Regions from separate parts of the Homo sapiens genome. Here region 2 is linked to region 1. The links are contacts of gene promoters, found by promoter capture Hi-C in blood cells and fetal thymus (Javierre and others, 2016). All regions are on one chromosome and are shown on one strand. The core of a region is centred on a gene start or on the middle of the fragment in contact, and the rest is flanking DNA. Distances in the headings are between cores, read along the strand shown. Region 1 holds the start of PLA2R1 (phospholipase A2 receptor 1). Region 2 has its middle 230 kb from the start of TANK-AS1.

Evidence for each region. Contacts are between HindIII fragments. The CHiCAGO score rates a contact against its expected background, and 5 or more counts as called.
Region 2: a fragment that was not itself captured here is called in contact with the fragment with the promoter of PLA2R1 in region 1 in 2 of 17 cell types (M2 macrophages and M1 macrophages); the score reaches 5.9 in M2 macrophages.

Annotation. Positions count from the first base shown.
Region 1 is chr2:160,060,860-160,067,317 of GRCh38, forward strand. PLA2R1 (phospholipase A2 receptor 1) reads right to left here and starts at 1,756. Exons shown (of 30, transcript NM_007366.5): 1 at 1,436-1,756. The coding sequence starts at 1,544. The HindIII fragment of the contact is 10,793 bases long and covers 1-6,458 here.
Region 2 is chr2:160,925,258-160,931,830 of GRCh38, forward strand. No RefSeq gene overlaps it. Among named protein-coding and RNA genes, the nearest start is that of TANK-AS1, 230 kb to the right of the region's middle. The HindIII fragment of the contact is 2,912 bases long and covers 1,485-4,396 here.

The DNA.
Region 1 (6,458 bases), core at 506-3,005:
AACCACTGCATGGTAAACTTAGTGGGAAGGAATCATACATACTACAGGATCAGATGTGCATCCACAGGAGCAATTTTCTGAATTGACCAAGAAGGTAAGAGCATCTCTGACTTTGGTCACTTTAGAATAAGAATGGTCTTGTTCTACCTGCCCCTGATTAAGCCTCCAGGGAGCTTAGGAAACACAGTCTAGAAAAGACTACCTCAAAAATGTAGACATATTCTACTGTGGAGGAAAAAATGTGAACGCAGATATTGATCACATCTTGTGTTACCCCTTCTCTCCAAACTTATCTCCAAAGGCAGAGAGGATGGAGGCTGTCTGGAGGCTCCTCCTGGCATATTTAACTCCCTCCTGTCCCCCTCCTACTTGCATATATGGACTTCTGCACTTAGGCGCAGGCTTCTCTGCCTGAGGTGGCCCATTCTCAAATGCGGGCCCCTGCAGGCCAGAAATCTCTCCTCCCTCTCTTTACACAACCTTCTGAGTCTCATGTGTAGTAGGTGCTCAATAAGTGTTTGCTGAATTGAACCCCGTTTTTCCACTGAGAGAGACTAAGGCATAAAGGCTTCAGATCACGCAGTTCATGGAGCCACTGGGGCTTCTCTCCCTCACCTGGCCTGATGTTTTCAGGCGGGGTGCGGTGGGTCAGGCCTGTAATCCCAGAACTTTGGGAGGACGAGGTGGGCGGATCACTTGGGCCCAGGAGTTGGAGACCAGCCTGGGCAACATGGTGAAACTCCGTCTCCACCAAAAATACAAAAATTTTGCTGGGCGTGCGGGCGCACACCTGTGGTCCCAGCTACTCGGGAGGCTGAGGTGGGAGGATCGCTTGACCCCGGGAGGCGGAGGCTGCAGTGAGCCGAGATCCCGCCATTACACTACAGCCTGGGCGACAGAGCAAGACCCTGTCTCAAAAAACAAACAAACAAAAAAAGTTTTCCTTAAGGAAGGGATGGACTGGGGAGGCCTGGCTTGGGGGTCACTCCTAGGTGGCGACGCAGACCCTGAGCGCTTGCTTTGCAAGGGGACGAACTGAGCCATCTTTTTGCTATCATTTATCCGTCCCAAATAAGCAGCTCTCAGAAAGTTTCCGTTTTGAAACTTCTCCGACACTCCTATCCCGGGCTGGCTCCGGGCGCCAGAGCCGAGAGGAGTTACCTGCGAGACCAAGCCCCCCCGCCCCCGCCGCCCGACCCCCGCAGGAGCCAGGAGGGTGCCGGGCCGCGCAAGTGGGGTGCTGGGCCTAGACAAGAGGCTGCAGGACACCACCCGCTCCCCCCATGCTCAGGACTGCTGACACACGAACCCCTACAAACGCGGCCGCCCTTGCCCGCCAGCTTGGCCCCTAGCTTCGCCCCTTCTTCCTCTCCTTCGACCACCCCGACCCCCCTCCCCAACGTACCGATCCAGTCCCCGACCCTGGGAGACTCACCCTGCCACTCCAGGAGCCGCTCGGGGGTAAGCGCCGCCGCCACACCCTCGGCGCAGCCCCGCGGCGCCCCCAGCAGCAGCAGCAGCAGCAGCGACGGCGACAGCAGCATCGCTAACCACTGGGCTCTCCGGGAGCCCCTTGTCCCGGGAGCCCCTTATCCCGGGAGCCCAGAGCCGCGTCCCAAGCACCCGGCCCCGCCGCGCGGAAGCGGATCCGTAGCCTCCTCCGCGCCCCACCCCCTCCGGGGGCCTTGCCAGCCCAGAGCCCTGGAGACCCACTCCGCCACCGCTGTCTCCACAGTGAACCGACACTCGGGGCTCTGGGCTGGGATGCGGGAAAGTCGCGGAGGTTTTCCTCGCCCCACCCACTGCGGCTTGGGGAAGGAGGAGGAGGAGGGGTGGGCCATCTGCCCATCCCAGAAATTCCTGCCTTTGGGGTGGGGACAGGCGGAGTGAGGCTGCTCGGGTCACACTCTCCGCTCCTCTAGCTTGCAGCCCTGCTCTCTCCTTTCTGGGGGAGGCCGAAGAGGAGTTGTGGGTGAGCGATTTGAGAATCTCCGGGACAAGGAGCCTGACATCCGGGTTTGCAAACCACCTGGATTCTGGTAAACACCGCGGATTTGCAGCGGGCAGCCTAGAGTGAACCCAGCTGCTCCGCGACGCAGGCGCTTTGGGAGGGTCCTGGACTCCTTTGACTTGTGGAGCACTGGAGACACCTGAGGGGCCACGCCGTGGTCTCCACCTTCCTTGCCCCAGAGTAACCCGGAGATTCTTCTATTCAGCTCCTTCGGTTTTGAAATAACCTCCTCTTTCCAACTCCTTTGATCCCCCAAGCCCCGCAAAGTAGCCGGGGTCCCTATTATCCCATTTTTACAGCTGAGAAACCCTGCCCAGAAAGTCGAAGTGCTTTGCTCTAGGTTACTTCCTAATCCAGCAAAAGTTACTCTCTAGCAAGTAGGACAGCCCTGGCTAGAATGTAGTCGTTCTAACTGTCCTCCTTCAAATAACCAGCAGAACACTGGAAGCGTTTAATATTCTGAGAACAGGCTCATATAAGACCTTTCCTCAGCGGGACCTTGACATTAGTCATTAAAACATAAGAGAGGGGGAGGGGAGGGGCAGAAAGCAGAGCCTGGAAGGAAATGCCTAGCAGGGAGCAAGATTGAAGGTCAGAGCCAAATGGGGAAGAAGGGAAAGTGGTTGCCTTGGCCATGGCCTTAACAAAAGGTGCTCAGTCCTGCAGGAACCTCAGAGAGCCTCAGAACTGTCTGTCGAGGACAAAAGGGGCAAGCGTTTATCCATGGACTTTATCCTTCCCTGTTGGTAAGGGAGATCCTAGGGTTATTAACTCCTCTGCACTGTTCTACAGCAGTGGTGAGTTTCAGTCATGGTCCCATACCTTGTCTCTTAGAAGCCCTGGGTGCATAGCATGGCAAAAGGTGAGGCGCTGTCAGGTTGTTTCTCAGAGGGTTGGGGGGTGGGGGACAGCCGGGGGAAACAGGCTGCAGAGGGGGCTGGAATAAGAGGTGGGTTGAGAGGATGTGAGAGGTTCCAATGTGTGTAGAGTTTATAACATATCATTACATGTAGAATTCAGCATCCTTGCTTGAAAACATGCAGAAAAGAGATGCTTTAAGCCTAGTAGATTACACAGACTTCAGCCACAAACTATGTATCCATCTCTCCTATGGCCTCAGAACTACATTGCTATGGGAATATCCCCGTAGTATTATGATAGAAGATTTGGCCCTGCCCGAGCAGGCTGGCATGTATTGCAGCAGGCAAGTGCAATGCACATGACATAATTAGGTCATAAAACAGGACACTGATGCTAATCTCTGGTGAGGTCCAGGGCAGTGAGAGTAAAGGGGAGAGAGACTAGGCTGGAGTGGGCATAGAGGCCTAACTATGCTCAGATAGTATGGTGGGTATTGGGAGGAAGAGGCTGTTCTAGGATGGGAAGAAATTGTGAAAAAAAAAATTATACAAAGGTTGGAGTGAGAACTGCTTGTATGGGAGAGAGTGAGGCATGCCTGGCTGAAATAAAGGCAGCCACTGGGGCACCCTGACGAATGAGGACAGTTGCTGGGACATTGGGCTACCTCTCACTGGCTGTGGACCAGGGTGAGTTATTCACGTGCTATGGTCCTGTTTTAGTCTCTGTATAATGAGGGGGGAAAATGCCTCCCTTGACCCATAGCAGATGCTATTCTGAAGTAGCAGAGCTAGGTCTGTGAGTAGGATAAGAAGGGAGAAACAAACCTTATTTCATCTTCAGAGCAATTAGTATAATGAAGAGAGGTGTTGACAGCTTCCTGGCCTACCAACCCCGTATTTTCTATTCAACCATTAGAACACTCAGAAAAGAGCTACTTTTTCTTTTTTTAAAAAAAATCTCTTCCTGAAACACTGCAGCTTTGAAATGGAAATCTGTGGTAAAGGGCTTTTTAACCTTCAAGAAAATGACCAGCACCCATATCCTGGGCTCACGTGTGTTTCAGGTTCATGAGGCAGTGTAGGGTCATGGTTAAATGAGGCAGCTCTGCCACTTACCAGCACACCACTTAGTTTGCCCCAGCCTCAGTTTCCTTCTGTGTAAAATGGAGATAATAATGTTTGCTTCATTGTGTGGTTGCATTAAATGAGCTAATGTATGCAGAGTGCTAGCACAGTGCTAACACACTGTAAAGTTCACCTCTGGGAGCTGTGGGTGTGTGGGGAGGGAGTGAGGAGCAGAGAGCAAGAGCAAAGGAGAGCTCAGAAGCCATGCTACAGAGCACTGTGCTAGTGGTAATTATGGCTCTGGACTTCAGCTGGGGAACACAGCAGGGAGGGCTCAGTGCCTGCTGGCCTTTGTACAGCTTCCCATTGCTTCCCTTCTCCTTTGGAGTTGGAATTCATTATTTATATCTCTCACCTGAATGTGAGTTCCAGGGCAGCACACTTCCTGGCACTTAGTCATCTCTCAGTCTCTGCTGAATGAGCGAAGGAATGAGGGAGGAAAAGAAAGAGGTTGAAAGAAATGAAGTCAGTCTTCACTTAACGTCATCTATAGGTTCTTAGAGACTATGATTTTAAGCAAAATGGCATATAATGAAACCAATTTTCTTTTTCTCATCAATGTCATAATGAAATCACAGTGAAGGAAATAATGTTGTTTGAGGACCTGCTGTATGTCATTTCACTTAAAATTGCAGTTTCCAAGAACCTGTCCATGGTGTTAAGTGAAGACTTACTGTACAGTGTGTGGAGTGATTTGAAACTTGAGAAAAATATTAAAACTTTGAATGGTATTGACAGTAAAGAAAATGGGATTTAAAACTCAATGTATAGGTTGCGGTTTGTCAAAATTAACAAAACTTTTTGAGCACTGTATGAATCAGGGTATCAGCAAGAAAGGGTGAGGTCCTGGTTTGTTGAATGTTTACCCAAGGGACTGTGAACCCCCAAAATTTGAGATGGGCCTCAGTTAATTTAGAAAGTTTATTTTGCCAAGGTTGAGGACACACACCCGTGACACAGCCTCAGGAGGTCCTGATGACCTGTGCCTAAGGTGTTCAGAGCACAGTTTGGTTTTATACATTTTAGGGAGACATGAGACATCAATCAATGTATGTATGATGAACATTGGTTTGGTCTGGAAAGGCGGGACAACTTGAAGTGGAGAGCGGGGCTTCCAGGTCATAGGTAGATAAGTGACAAGTGGTTGCATTCTTTCAAGTTTCTGATTAGCCTCTCCAAAGCAGGCAATCAGATATGCGTTTATCTTGGTGAGAAGTCTTTGAATAGAATGGGAGGCAGGTTTGCTATAAGCAGTTCCCAGTTTGACTTTTCCCTTTAGCTTAATGATTTGGGGGGCCCAAGATATTTTTCTTTCGCATTTCCCCCCTTTTCTTTTGAAAAATCTTTTGAAGGCCGAGCATGGTGGCTCACACCTGTAATCACAGCATTAAGGGAGCCTGAGGCACGTGGATCACCTGAGGTCAGGAGTTCAAGACCAGCCTAGCTAACATGGTGAAACCTCGTCTCTACTAAAGATACAAAAATTAGCTGGGTGTGGTGGTGCACGCCTGTAATCCTAGCTACTCAGGAGGCCGAGGCAAGAGAATCGCTTGAACCTGAGAGGCAGAGATTGCAGTGAGCTGAGATCATGCCACTGCACTCCAGCCTGCATGATAGGTGCATTCTCTGTCTCAAAAAAATAAATCGTTTGGAGCAAATTAGTCTCTGGTTCCAGGTTTAGTCTTTTATCTGATATCTCATGGCTAGGATGATTTATTCCTAGACAGGTAGGTCCTGAGTTATTAGGAAAGCTCATTTTTAGAAAGTTGTAAAGTCTCATGTCCTATGAAGAGAAAATAGGGGGAGGAAGGGAGAACAACAACAATAAACAAAAGAAATATTTTGGAAAATCAATGTAGACCACATTACTCTGAAGTCCATACATCAGTAGGCAGGTATGAAAGTGGCTTATGTATGTAAATAGGTTTTGCTGTTATTTTCTTCTGAAGTTCAAGTTGTCTAGTTTCAGTTTGCAGAGCTTTACAAAAGCACAGCTTTGTTTTCAGTGACTCCAAATTAGGAAAAATGGGGGGAAAAGGAAAAAAAATTAAAAACATTATTTTGAAAACTTATAGCCAAAAAAAATTAGAATTCAGTCCAAACTGTAGAAAATAATAAAACTGAAAAACATCAGACAAGACTAGAATCTAACAACAGGTGTACTACAGTTTTTGAAACATAATTTTTCTCTCTCCAGTTTCCCATTTTTAAAGACAAATCATGGTAGGACTGATTTGCTTTATTATACTTATCCTAATTATTTGCATACTGTGCAGCAAGAATAATTATTTTTTTACATAGGCTTTTAAATTGTCTTTGGTGGGACTTTATTCCATAGAAGGAATCTCAGATAAGACTTTTTTAAAGCCGAGCCCAGCCGTGAATTTGTGCCACCTAATACCTGTGAATTGGGTGATCCTTTCCTCTTGAGGTTCCAAGATAAACTTGGAGCTCCTGGGCCT
Region 2 (6,573 bases), core at 1,691-4,190, 870 kb after region 1:
GAGCCAAGAAAAGCCACACCAAGAAAAGCACTGCTCAAGAGATTGCAACAGCAGTTTGTTAGCTACAGAATCAATACAGGTGCTTACTACTGAGTATGCGACTTAGAGCCTAGCCAGACTTGCTAGCTGTCTTGCTATAGCAAGGGTCCTACCAACCAGCTAGACACATTGGACTTACTGTATTTCTAGGTATCCATCAGAGATTGTGTGTGCTTCCCAGTAATCTAATCATGACCTGTTAGAATAAGATAAGGATTGAAATGGATTCTTTTTGAAGACAGATGCCAAGTAGAAGAATGTCTAATATCGTTACTTATACCCACTAGTCAAGGCTGTTCTGATTGTTAATTATAGAAACCCCTCTATCTAGCACACACACACAAAGTGAAAAGGTGGGTTTTATAGAAATATATAAGATATCTAATGAAATATAAGTACAATTGGACAATGTCTTTTGATGATCCAGAATTGAGGTTCTTTTCTGTGGCAGATTGTATTTTCCCAAATTGGCTGCAACAATATTTTACATCCTACATACTCTTCCTGAACCTTGACATTCCCACACTGGGAGCTAGAATCTATGCCCCCTACTTTTGAAACTATGTGGGCCTTTGTAAATGCCTCAAGTAACAGGGTCATGGTGGAATAGTGGTAGGACATTTCCAAAGCTATGTTGTAAAAGGTGATATGGCTTCCATCTGGCTCACTATCTTGAAATTTGACCTTTTGGAACTTTGAGCATCCATATAAGAAGTCTGGCTGTCCTGAAGCTGTCCTGCTGCAGAGACTACTTGGAACGGCCATATGAAGACAGAGAGAGACACCCAAGGAACCTTAGTTGTTCCAGCCCAAGAATCTGACATGTGGTAAGGAAGCCATTGAGATGAGTCCAGGGCTACTGTCCAATAGCAGCTACATGAGAGACTCCCAAGGAGAACCACCTGGCTGACCCCAGAACTATGAGAGATAATTATAACTGATTGTTGTTGCTTTATACTACTATGCAGCAATAGCAACTGGAATACTTTTGTCTAGAGCCCTGTAATTTCTCCCCTCTGTTTCTCTCTGCATGTCTACTTCATTCTCCTGTTTCTGTCCACAAAGTTCATGCATTTGTCTGTATATTGAGATCATATAGCTGTTTGTCCATACCACGTGCCCTCCAGAAGATTTAATGTGCACAAGAATCACCTGGAAATTTTGCTAAAACTTAAAGTCTGATTCATTACTTTTGTGATGGGACCTGAGGGTCTGCATTTTTAACAAGTTCCTAGGTGATATTGCTACTGGTCTGTGAACCACTAGATTAACCTGTTGCCATTTGCTTTCTCTCCCCTCCCCCATATTAAATCATTTGAAAACAAGTTGCAGACCTTGTGATAGTTTACCACGAGATTCTTCAGGGTAACTCTCCCAAGAATAAGAACATTTTCTATATAATCAGAATATTGTTATATATGCCAAAAACTTAATTTATTTTTAAAAGCTTTATCTAAAAATATAGTCCATATTTAAATTTCTTCATTTATCTCAAAAATATCTTTTGAAGCAGTTTCTCCTCCCTTTGATCCAAGATTCAATCAAGGATTAAGTACCTTTGATATCCGATAATCAGAATAGTTGCTCTACCTTTTCTTTACCTGTCCTTTAAGAGACTAATGTTCTTGGAGAGTCCAGGCCAGTTTTCTAATAAAATATCACACAACCTGGATTTGACTGCTTCCTCATGAACAAACTCTAGTTATACATTTTGTCAAGAATTGGTGGTTTGTCGTAATCACCAATTATGTAGTTTACATCGCAACACATCAGGAGACTCCGGATGTCACTTTGCCCCTTTTTTGGTGATGCCATGTTGGATCACTTAGTTAAGCTGATAGTTGATGTCTTTTGTGTTTCTTTTTCTTTTTTCTTTTTTTTCTTTTTTTTTGACAGGGCTTTACTTGGTAGCCTAGGTTGGAGTGCAGTGGGGTGATCACAGCTCACCGTAGCCTCCACCTCCTGGGCTCAAGCAATCCTCCTACTTCAGCCTCATGAGTAGCTGGGACTACAGGTGCATGCCGCCATGCCTGGCAAATTTTTGTATTTTTTTGTAGAGATGAGGTTTCGCCATGTTGCCCAGTATAGTCTGGAACTCCTGAGCTCAAGTGATCCCACCTCAGCCTGCCAAAGTGCTGGGATCTTTTTACAGTGCAAAGAAGTTTTTTGAAGAAAGGCCCCAGCTGTCTTCCCCTCTCATCTCATTGGCCAGACTGGATCACATGATCACCACTAACCCATTCATTGACAAAGGACAGGGGTGTCCTTTGACTAGCTTGGACCAATCATGATTCCATCCCTGGGGTGAGAATTTGTCAAGCTGTGGGGAGTTGACTAATGAGGGGAGCTATTAGCCTAGAAGAATGGCTTTTGGGTAGACAATCAAGCGTGCCTGCCACATTTACCCAGTATTACAGAGCTAGTTAGAGGACAAACTGCTCTCTGATTCCTATTCCAACATAGCATGCTGCCTCCTTAAGAGATTAAGGATTTATTGCTTATAAAATACTTTATAGGCCTCTTGTGAGAAATCCAATATTTATTTGCCCTATAAGATAAAAACAGGAATTTATTTTTTCTTGTTTTCTTTTCAGCTTTTCTCAGTCCATGATTCTTCACAGTGTTATAATGATACAGCTATTTATAGCCACTGCCAAAAATAAAAATAAAAAGTTTTTCTTTCCAAAATGGGCCAATAAGTTTTATACAGAATAAGTTTATGGGATGTAAATTGTATAAGTTTAAAGCATTTCTCACTCTATTATTCTTTCAAAAAGTTATAGAGATGGAAAATCAAAAGGAGTTATAATTCCATCAGGACAAGAAGCCAAAATGGTGGATGCTTTCATGAAGTTTATCAGGATTGTTAATAACTGTCATCCAAACCTCTCTCTCCTGCAGAATTGGTTGGATATTTGTAAAATGTAGTTGTCTTATGAGAATTCTGGCACTTTGAAATATCATTCCAGCTGGAAACTAGACATGAAAAATATCAAGGTGATTCTGAATCTCTGAAAATGTTTGGTTTAATTCTGAAAATTAAATGTAGTGCCCTGGGGCTGGGTACCAGGGCCATTGATTGTCCCAACCAAGTGATTCTTTCCTCCTAGTTGTAGTAATCTATTCTGTGCTTTCAGGCAATACTCTACATCTTGTGCTTTAAAGGGTTCAAAGACAGCTCTTTTACTAGCTTGCATAGGTCTAAAATTTTAGCATTTGAGTTTCTAAGTCCTCCTTCCCTATTCCCAGCAAGAAACTCCACCTACATCCAACCCCACCCTAACTGGGCCAAAGCTATTTCCCCTCCTATTTATCTATGTAAGGGGCCCACAGGCATCTCTGCATAGACCTAAGCCACAGGCACCCTCCACACATCTCTCAAGCATCAGCCAGTACTTCAGCAATGGAACTTTAGTTTCCATTGTGACTTGAGCGCACAGAGACCCAGATAGCCATGTGAAGAATAGGCTTTTGGTAGAGGGGAGAAGTGGAGGTGTGTAGGGAGAGGAAAAGGGAGGGAATATTGCAGGCAATCTTTACCTGCTTCACAATTTGCCAAAACCAAGCTCCCATTTTTATAGCTCACCACCCATTCTGTTTTCCACAACCACTGACCTTGACATTCACCAACCCTTTCTTTCTTTACTGTAACCTTGACTCCAGTAGAACGGTGCTTGTGGTTTATCTAACCTTGTGTCACCCTGAAACAAAAAAACAGGAGATGGCCAAATACCACAGAGAACTGTGGGGTTATTTTTGTGTGAGGCCCAAACAGGATTTCTACATAGATTTGTCATCTCTCCCATACAATGAATGGGTTTTAAAAACGTGGAGAAATTTCTCAAAACTATTCCAGCTATTTTGTTCTTTGGCATTTGCCCACACACCCCAAGAGAGGTAGATATGAAAAAACAATATTTGACCATGTAGCTATAGTTACAGGCCACAGACAGCCAAGGGAACAGAAATTTAAAAATGAATGTAATATGCAACTTTGCCCTGATTCTGTCTCCCTGGATAAACTCTGCTTACCACTTAAATCTAAGTGTTCCCTAGTCCTCGATAATTGACAGGCAGTGGGAGAAGGTAAAGTCAAGTCTAAATTGAACACTGAATACAAAAGCACCTCCTTTCCAAGAAAAATTCCATTTTATGGTGAAATGATGAAAATGCCCCATTCTTTTGTTTAGATAAATTCCAACCCTGTTTACGCTGATTTCTCCAGAGGGAGAAAGAGAGACTGTTTCTTTGAAAAGCCATTGACACAGAAAAACTCAGGTTCAATTTGGTTTTATCCTGAAGGTTTGAAGTAAAACAATTCTTTGTCAGAATTTATAAATAAGACATTCATTAATTAAGCTTCACAATATTGCTTTGAAGTGAATACTACTGAATTCATTTAACCAGTGATGAGATTCTGGCAGGGAAATTGAGCAATTAGACTTGTTCAGTAAAGCATTTAAAAGCCTAGAAAAAAAATCCAGGAGTTCCCAATGCCTTATTCTCCATGTTGAATTACTCTTAGGCATGGAATCAGATATTCATTGTTTAATTGCAGTAAGAAGGGAATTCTTCTGTGACCCAGATAAATTGTAAGAATAATATAGACAAACTATTTGGAGTATCAGTATTTCCCATCTGAAATGGATATCCAATGACTGTCACATCTAGAGGAGGCCTCTGAAGTCCATGAGTGCCATCACCTCTTTCACAGAACTGAGCATCCGCCCTGACCTCTCTCCAGTACTAAGGCAATCTCCATCCCCAAAGTCAATGCTGCTACTGCACATTTCTGATATTAACAATCCAAGAGCATCTTGAGTCTCAGAGCCTTTCCCTCATGGTCAGTGGAGTCATCCCTGATGTACCTCTGCCTGCCTTTGATTCCTCTTTCCACATCCCATCAACACCCACACACATCGACTCACTGTTGGTCCCCAAGAACAGCCATTTTGTTGTTGTTGTTGCCACATCAAGTTATTTGGATCTTGATTACAGTACTGTGTAATCATTATCTTCAACATTCCTTTACTTCCAGTTTATCTTCTGCCTATTCCAAAGATGTCTGCCATTTTGTGTCATAAGGAACACATTCAATATCTGCTCATCACCCTCCAGTCCAACTCACTTATCCCTGTGAACTTCCTGGTCTTCTCCCCAGATGTCTAGTGTTCTAGTTCTCATCTCTTACTCAGGCAAGCAAGCCCTCTGTGATGGTTAATACTGAGTGTCAACTTGATTGGATTGAAGGATGCAAATTATTGATCCTGGGTGTGTCTGTGAGGGTGTTGCCAAAGGAGATTAACATTTGAGTTAGTGGGCTGGGAAAGGCAGAGCCACCCTTAATCTGGGTGGGCACCACCTAATCAGTTGCCAGTGTGGCCGGAATATAAAGCAGGCAGAAAAACGTGAAAAAACTAGACTGGCTTAGCCTCTCAGTCTACATCTTTCTCCCGTGCTGGATGCTTCTTGCCCTTGAACATCAGACTCCTAGTTCTTCAGCTTTGGGACTTGGACTGGCTTCCTTGCTCCTCAGCTTGCAGACGGCCTATTGTGGGACCTTACGATGGTGTCAGTTAATACTACTTAAGAAACTCAAATATATGAGAGAGCTATATACATATATATATCTTATTAGTTCTTTCCCTCTAGAAAACCCTAATACACCCTCTCTGGGGGTCAAGTGACACAGGCACTTTCTTTTACCTCTATGTCTTTGCTACAGTGATGTATCCCTCTGATTTATATTCATGCTTCAGGATCACCTCATTCACTAGCCTTGCATTGATACAGATGCCCCATTTCTTGTCAATGCTTTATTTATGCAATTACACATATTAATTTAGCAAATATTTATCAATATGTCCTAAATATGAAATACCATATGTATTAATAATAAGAAAGATACAAAGATAATTAAATATGTATCTTGAACTTAAGTATCTTACTGTCTTGTTTGAGACACAGAGTGGTAGCATAAATAATCCTAATACACAGATGGTATTAAATACTACTAAAATGATATAGATAAGGTACTATGAGAATTCAAACCCAGAAAAAAATTACTTCTAAAAAAAGATTAGCAAGAGCACAATTGGGAAATATTTCATGGAAGAAGTGGCTTCATACCATAGCCTTGTACACAAATAGACCAGAGAAAGACAGGTATTTCAGATGTTATGATAGTACCAGCAAAGGCATGGAGGTGGGAAGAAACTAGAAGACAGACAGGATGGAGTTCAGGGGGGCTCAAAAGAAGAGGATATAAAAGGATGTTTGGGGAAATAAATGTGTAGCAAGGTTCTTGGCATTGAATGATATGCTGTGTCTTAATTGTTGCTTTGTAGCCCTTAAAAGCTTGTGATGAGTAAGATGATCGGAGGTCGACTCTAGGAAGACCACTCTGGCATGCGTGCAGGCAAAAAGGAGAAGTTACTTTACAAAACTTTTACAACTGACTTCAAGGAAACAGCACTGAGACCCTGAATTAGGGTAGTGACAGTAAGAATGAGAAGGAATAAACGTATCTAACAG